Linked DNA regions of Homo sapiens: region 1 is linked to region 2. The links are contacts of gene promoters, found by promoter capture Hi-C in human tissues and cell types (Jung and others, 2019). All regions are on one chromosome and are shown on one strand. Each heading gives the region's core, a stretch centred on a gene start or on the middle of the fragment in contact. The rest is flanking DNA. Distances are from core to core; before and after follow the strand shown.

What was found. Contacts are between HindIII fragments. The study calls those that stand out against the background at their distance.
Region 1: a contact is called between a fragment that was not itself captured here and the fragment with the promoter of RAB40C in region 2, in 1 of the 25 tissues and cell types used here (lymphoblastoid cells).

Annotation. Positions count from the first base shown.
Region 1 is chr16:197,128-201,282 of GRCh38, reverse strand. It overlaps LUC7L (LUC7 like), which reads left to right. Exons shown (of 10, transcript NM_201412.3): 6 at 2,045-2,221. Among named protein-coding and RNA genes, the nearest start is that of HBQ1, 19 kb to the right of the region's middle. The HindIII fragment of the contact is 3,095 bases long and covers 652-3,746 here.
Region 2 is chr16:587,860-591,752 of GRCh38, reverse strand. RAB40C (RAB40C, member RAS oncogene family) reads right to left here and starts at 1,687. Exons shown (of 6, transcript NM_021168.5): 1 at 1,320-1,687. The coding sequence starts at 1,461. RefSeq lists silencers at 1,477-1,796, 1,887-2,006, 2,077-2,126, 2,137-2,196, 2,517-2,826 and enhancers at 2,171-3,044, 3,167-3,366. The HindIII fragment of the contact is 16,228 bases long and covers 1-3,893 here.

The sequences.
Region 1 (4,155 bases), core at 950-3,449, 390 kb after region 2:
ATTGTTTTTGCTTAAGTTTTTTTTTTTTTTTTTTTTTTTTAGTTATGTAGCATACTATAATGGAAATTCAAGTTCTTGCTAGTTCCTTGTCTACTTTTTTTTTTTTTTTTTTCTCAGACAGAGTCTCGCTCTGTCGCCCAGGCTGGATTGCTGTGGTGCGATCTCGGCTCACTGCATCCTCTGACTCCCGGGTTCAAGTAATTCTCAGACTCAGCCTCCCGAGTAGCTGGGATTACAGGTGCCAGCCACCGTGCCCAGCTAATTTTTTTGTATTTTTAATAGAGACGGGGTTTCACCTTCTCGGACTCCTGACCTTGTGATCCACCTGCCTTGGCCTCCCAAAGTGCTGGGATTGCAGGTGTTAGCCACTGTGCCCAGCCTATTTTTTTTAATATTAGAGGGTCCTGCTGTCAGCCAGGGTCACCCAGGCTGAAGTACAGTGGCGCAGTCACAGGTCACTGCCCCTTCAACCTCCTGGGCTCAAGCAGTCCTCTCGAATCAGTCTCTTGAGTAGGTGGGACTATAGGCACGTGCCACCACAGCGGGCTAATTATTTTCTTATTTTTAGAGACTGAGTCTTGCTGTGTTGCTCAGGGTGATCTCAATCTCCTGGGGCCAAGTGATCTTCTTGCTTCACTCTCCTAAAGTGCTGAGATTATAGGTGTGAGTCACTACACCAGGCCTGGAATACAATTTTTTTTTTTTCCTTTTTGGAGTTTTCCTCTGTCCTCCAGGTTGGAATGCAGTGGTGTGATCTCAGCTCACTGCAACCTCCACCTCCTGGGCTTAAACAATTTGTGCCTCAGCCTCTCCAGTAGCTGGAATTACAGATGCCTGCCACCATCTGGCTTTTTTTTTTTTTTTTTCTTTTGAGACGGAGTCTCGCTCTTTCGCCCAGTGGCATGATCTTGGCTCACTACAAGCTCCGCCTGCCGGGTTCACGCCATTCTCCTGCCTCAGCCTCCTGAGTAGCTGGGACTACAGGCGCCCGCCACCACGCCCAGCTAATTTTTTCTGTTTTTTTAGTAGAGACGGGGTTTCACCGTGTTAGCCAGGATGGTCGTGATCTCCTGACCCCATGATTCGCCTGCCTCAGCCTCCCAAAGTGCTGGGATTACAGGCGTGAGCCACCGCGCCCGGCCAATTTTTGTATTTTTAGTAGAGACAGGGTTTTGCTATGTTGCCAGGCTCGTCTTGAACTCCTGGCCTCAAGTGATCTGTCTGCCTTGGCCTCGGAATGCTGGGATTACAGGCGTGAGCCACTGAGCCCAGCCTGTTAGTACCTTTTTTTTTTAAGATGGAGTCTCGCTCTGTTGCCAGGCTGGAATGCAGTGGCACGGTTTTGGCTCACTGCAACCTCCGCTTCCCAGGTTCAAGTGATTCTCCTGCCTCAGCCTCCTGAGTAGCTGGGACTACAGGCATGTGCCACCACACCCAGCTGATTTTTGTATTTTTAGTAGAGACGGGGTTTCACAAAGTTGGCCAGGATGGTCTCGATCTCTCTTTTTTTTTTTTTTTTTTTTTTTGAGACAGGGTTTTGCTCTTGTTGCCTGTGCGATCTCAGCTCAACAGCAACCTCCGCCTCCCGAGTTCAAGCCATTCTCCTGCCTCAGCCTCCAGAATAGCTGGGATTACAGGCATGCGCCACCACACCCGGCTACTTTTGTATTTTTAATAGAGATGGGGTTTCTCCATGTTGGTCAGGCTGATCTTGAACTCCGGACCTCAGGTGATCCGCCAGCCTCAGCCTCCCAAAGTGCTGGGATTACAGGCGTGAGCCACCGCGCCTGGCCTGGTCTTGATCTCTTGACCACATGGTCCGCCCACCTGGCCTCACAAAGTGCTGGGACCGTGCCTGGCCGCGTTTCTTAAATAAACAGTGAAAATTGAGTTGGTTATAAATATCTGAAGTTTTGTTTGTGTTTTTTTAATATTTGTTTAAAAGTCACCTCTGTCATCTTATCAAATATTTTCATTTTGGAGATTGAATTTGTGGTGGCAGTTCTATATACCTCACTTTTATTTCTCCATTTTCCTTCTTCAGGAAGAATACAGAAATTCCATGCCTGCATCCAGTTTTCAGCAGCAAAAGCTGCGTGTCTGCGAGGTCTGTTCAGCCTACCTTGGTCTCCATGACAATGACCGTCGCCTGGCAGACCACTTCGGTGGCAAGTTACACTTGGGGTTCATTCAGATCCGAGAGAAGCTTGATCAGTTGAGGGTATGTTCATCTGTTTCTGGAGAAAGCTGAGGAGTCTTGGGGTGTTTTCACATTTCTTTAATTTTTAAAAACCTTATGTTTTGGCCGGGCGTGGTGGCTGATGCCTATAATCCCAGCACTTTGGGAGGCCGAGGTGGGCGAATCACCTGAGGTCAGGAGTTCGAGACCAGCCTGACCAACATGGTGAAACCCCGTCTCTACCGAAAAATTAGCCAGGTGTGTTGGTGTGAGCCTGTAATCTTAGGTACTCGGGAGGCTGGGGCAGAAGAATTGCTTAAACCCAGGAGGCAGAGGTTGCAGTGAGCCGAGATCATGCCATTGCATTCCAGCCTGGGCTATAGAGTAAGACTCCATCTCAAAAAAAAAACAAAAAACATTATGTTCTGATCTCTAAGAACTTGAGTTTTATAGTGAAATACGCAGATTTCATCACTTGGATTCACACAAGAGACATGATAGCTCAGAGTCCAAAGGAGCCTTGGAGATTTATTTTGGACCCTGTCGTTAAGGGAAGAAAATGGCAGAGCCTGTTCCCAGAATACATACAGCTCGTTGTGTATCTCTGAAATAACTTCTGTTAGGAGATGAGAAAGAATCTCTGGTTGGTCAAGACAGAGTGTCACACATCCTGGCTCCTTGCCTATGAGCCACCTCAGAAGGGCGGGGTGAAGATGGGGTTTTTCTGGTAGCATTGTACCATCCCAGCCCAGAGAAAACCTCTGTTCCTTCTTCAAGACTCTAAGACATTTAAAAACTTTTTTTTTTTTTTTTTTTTTTTTTTTTGAGATGGAGTCTCGCTCTGTCGCCCAGGCTGGAGTGCAGTGGCCCAATCTCGGCTTACTGCAAGCTCCGCCTCCCAGGTTCACACCATTTTCCTGCCTCAGCCTCCACAGTAGCTGGGACTACAGGTGCCTGCCACCACGCCCGGCTAATTTTTGTTGTTGTTGTTGTATTTTTAGTAGAGACGGGGCTTCATCGTGTTTGCCAGGATGGTCTCGATCTCCTGACCTCGCGATCCGCCCGCCTCAGCCTCCCAAAGTGCTGGGACCACAGGCGTGAGCCACCGCACCCGGCCGACATTTAAAAACTTTAAGTACGGAATGCTAAGAAGGAAGGTTGGACGTATTTCCACTACTTTGAATTGTCTCCCTTCACACTGATGGAGCCCCCCTTACCGCATACTAGGACCTCAGGATAGGATGGTGGGAAATTAGCCAGCCTCCCCCTGTATACCTGAAATGTAGTGGAGGGACAGACGTGTCGCTGACTGCAGAATGCTGCAGTGACCACGGCTGAGGGCCTTTTGTGCCCCAGGAAAGAGCTGCTCACTCAGGCCGCATATGGCAGGGCTGTGCACCTCAGGAGGGTCCCATAGGTGATGGTGTGAACCTGGGACTGTGATGGGAGCTGGTGCAGCAGTGAGGTTATTCTCGGCCACTGGTCTTGAAACATTTTACTTCCGTGTTCCCGAGAGAATTTTGAAAAGCAATGTACTCTGTCAAAGTTGGAATTTTTCTTTATAAGTTTATAGGTATGAAAGATGTAAAAGTGAGGCTGGGTGTGGTGGCTCACGCCTGTAATCCCAAACTTCGGGAGGCCGAGGCAGGTGGATCACGAGGTCAGGAGTTGAAGACCAGCCTGGCCAACATAGTGAAACCCCGTCTTTACTAAAAATACAAAAATTAGCCAGGCATGGCAGCGGGCGCCTGTAATCCTGGCTACTCGGGAGGCTGAGGCAGGATAATTGCTTGACCTGGGAGGCAGAGGTAGCAGTGAGCTGAAATTGTGCCACTGCACTCCAGCCTACGAGACAGAGCAAGACTCCGTCTCAAAAAAAAAAAAAAAAAAAAAAAAGGCTGGGTGCAGAGGCTCAGCCTCCTGTAATCCCAGCATTTTGGGAGGCCGAGGCGGGCAGATCACTGGGTCAGGAGATT
Region 2 (3,893 bases), core at 438-2,937:
GGGCGTGGTGGCATACACCTGTAGTCCCAGCTACTCGGGAGGCTGAGACAGGGGAATCGCTTGAACCCAGGAGGCGGAGGTTGCAGTGAGCTGAAATTGTGCCACTGCACTCCAGCCTGGCGACAGAGTGAGACTCCGTCTCAAAAAAAAAAAAAAGAAAGAAAAGAAAAGAAAACAAAACAAAACAAATGTTCAGTAACTCATTACAGAGGTATTTTCTTCTAGCACAAAGCGTTGACTCCCTCAGCAGTAAGCAAATACCTCAGGGGAACAGCGTGCCTATAAGGACCTGTCATCTGTGCACGCTCGAGACAGGGTCCCAAGAGCAGCCCAGCAGCACCTGCCACCAGACCTGGGTCCGTGACACCTTCCCCGGGCCCATGACACCTTTCCCCAGATCTATAACACCTTCCCTCGGACCCCAGATGATCCCAGACCCATGACACCTTCCCTTAGGACCATGATGCCTTCCCCCAGATCTATGACACCTTCCCTCAGACCCCAGATGATCCTAGACCCATGACACCTTCCCCTGAGATCCCAGACCATGACACCTTCCCTTAGGCCCATGACACCTTCCCCTGAGATCCCAGACCCATGACACCTTTCCCCAGATCTATGACACCTTCCCTCGGACCCCAGATGATCCCAGACCCATGACAGCTTCCCTTAGGACCATGATGCCTTCCCCCAGATCTATGACACCTTTCCTCGGACCCCAGATGATCCTAGACCCATGACACCTTCCTTTTGGCCCATGACGCCTTCTACCGGGACCATGACATCTTTCCCCGGACCCCAGATCCTGGACCCATGACACCTTCCCTCGGACCTATGACACCTTCTCCCAGACCCCAGATCCTGCACCCATGACACCTTCCCTCCGGCCCACGACACCTTCCCCCGAGCCCATGACACCTTCCCTCGGACCCCAGATGATCCTAGACCCATGACACCTTCCCCAGGCCCATGACACCTTCTCTAGGACCCATGACACCTTCCCCTGGGCTCCAGATCCCGGACCCATGACACCTTCCCCTGAGATCCCGGACCCGTGACACCGTCCCCCAGACCCCGGGTCCATGGCACCGTCCCCGCTGGGCGCGTCCCTCTGGTCCGTCCTCCTGCCCCCCGGCGTCACCTCGGGACTGGAGCACGGGCACCCCGCAGCCACCGAGCTACCGAGTCTGGAAGCCAGGCAAAGGCGTTCCTGGGAACGTTCGGCGGCGCTTGGAAGGGCCGGGCCGAGGGCGAGCTCCGTGCCCAGCTCGCCGGGCTCGGGCCCCGCGTAGCAGCGCGCGCCGCGGGCCGGGCCTTACCGTTACTGTAGGCGTACGGGGACTCTGCCGCGCCGTCCTGCAGGCTCTCCAGGATCTCGCCCTTGCCCACGTCGCTGTCGCCCACCAGCAGGAACTTGAGCAGGTAGTCGTAGCTCTTCACCGGACTGCCCTGCGAGCCCATGGCCGCGCCGCCTGCGCCCCGCGCCGGCCGCCTGCCGAAGCACCGCCGGGTGAGGCCGCGGCGTGAGAGAGCCCGCGCCCCGCACCTGCGCCCGTTGCGTCCGCCCCACGGCGGCCGAGTGGGCGCGCCCGAAGCCCAGCGCCGGCCCCGCCCCGCCCGCGCCCGGGCGCACCTCAGCCTCGCCGCCGCCCCGCCGCTTCCCGCACCACCAGGGCCGCCGCGCCGCCCCACCCCCGGCCGCGCCGCCGCCATTGGCCACCCTTCGCCCGCCCTCCCGAGCCCATTGGCCCACCCGCCCGTCCGTCACGACTTCCCCGCCCTCACGGCGTTCCACACGGCGCCGCCAGACCTCCGGTCGCACCGCCTCTTCACCACCCCGCCCTGCCTTCCCGTAGTCACCAGAGGTCGCCCGCCGCCCTCCTTCCCTCAGCCATTGGCCTGTCTGCACGTCTGTCATGACCGCCCCTCCCCCGCCTTTCCCACACGGCGTTGCGGAGACAGCGGACGCCTGCCTCATCGCCGTCGCCATTGGCCACTCGCCTCCTGCTTTCCCGGAACCATTGGTTCGATTATAAGTTCACCAAGATCATTCCCTTCCCTGCGGCTGCCTCCCAGAGAAATCCCAGAGCCGCCGGCCGCCCCGCCCCCGGCCCACAACGCCGTTGTCCTCGCCCGCCCCGTCGCCGGCGCCATTGGGTCGCTTGCATGTCCATCACGGCTCTGCTAACCCCGCCCCTTTCCTACACGCTCGCCAATCAGGGGCTCGGAAGTCCACGTTGTTTGTATCCGCCCCTTCAACGCGCGGACGGGCGGCAGGATGCAGGCGCGCCCGAGCCGAGGCGATGCGGCTGAGTCCGGGAAACGAAAGCCCCTCGCAGGCTGTGCCGCCTGCTTCCGCAGAACCCTCGGAGGGAGCGGCGGGGTGGCCCCGGGCGCGTCCTCTCTAAGGCGGTGCGGCCAATCGGCGCTCGATGAGGCGGAACTTCCTCTCCGGGGCAGGGGCGGGACTTCCGCCCGGCGGCGGCGGGGCGCACCGTTGGGTCACCAGTGAGTCTGCAAAGTCGCTGAGGTTCTGGGACAGCGCGGCGTCACCGAGCGTGAGCCTTCCGCCCGGGGACGCGGCCGCCACAGCTCGGGACGCGGGGAGCGCGGCCGGCGCGAGCTCAAGACCCGGCCCGACGTGCTCACTGCGGCAGCGGCGCCTCCTGGACGGGGACCCAGGGCCCGGACCGCGCTCTTCCCGGGGGCGCCGCCGAGCCCTCGTCCCTGCCGGGCCCGGCTGCCGCAGGTGCGTGGGCGAGCGAGGCGGCTGCGTCCGCGGGCCCCGGCGTGGGGTCGGGGGTTGAGTGGGCACGTGGTTCTTTCTGGGGTGACGAGAAGGTCCTACCGTCGTGGGGATGGTCCTGCCTCTCTCGGTGAAGTTACTCACTCGGAACGGGTGAGCTTTGTGATACGTGCTCTGCGTTCAGTAGCGCTGTTACAGTCGTAAGTAAAAGCAGTAACGTCAGCGCCGACCCAGCGCAGCCCTCTCCAGACCGGGTGCGGAGCCCGTCACGTCTGCCCCGCCGGCGAGGAGCAGAGCCCGGCAAGAACCCTCCTCCAGAGGGGCCCCGACCAGGGCTGTGCCTCCGGGAGCAGGTGCTGCTTACACAGAGGGACGCCAGGACGGGCAGCCCCACACCTCCAGTGACCTCCCGTCCCCCAGAGCTGAAGACATGGCCTGACTAAGCGGCGACCACATCGACGCACCAGTTTTTTCTTTTTTGAAACAGGGTCTCCCTTTGTCGCCCAGGCTGCAGTGCAGTAGCGCGATCTCGGCTCACTGCAGCCTCTACCTCCCCGGCACAAGCGATCCTCCAGCCTCAGCCTCCCGAGTAGCTGGGACTACAGGCGCCACCATGCCCGGCTACCTTTTGTATTTTTTGTAGAGATGGCGCCTTGCCAAGTTCCCCAGGCATTAACCCGGAAACAACCTGGCGGGTCAGGGAGAGCCTCTTCTGCTCAGAGGTCATTGTGCCCAGACTTGAGCCCTGGCTGTGAAGTCCCTGAGGCCCCTCACTCCAGGGACGGGAAGCACCAAAGATGTGATGTTTCCTCCTCGGTTTCTGAGACTGCCTGGAAGCGGGGGGTGGATAGTGGTGAGCAGCCGTCTCCTCCTTTCCTGAGAACATAAATCAGAAACGCTTTCTGAGGCCGGGCACGGTGGGTCATGCCTGTAATCCCAGCACTTTGGGAGGCTGAGGTGGGTGGATCACCTGAGGTCAGGACCAGCTTGGCCAACATCGTGATAACCCCCTCTCCACTGAAAATACAAAAATGAGCCAGGCATGTTGGTACGTGCCTGTAATCCCAGCTACTTAGGAGGCTGAGGCAGAAGAATTGCTTAAACTCGGGAAACGGAGGTTGCAGTGAGCTGAGATTGTGCCACTGCA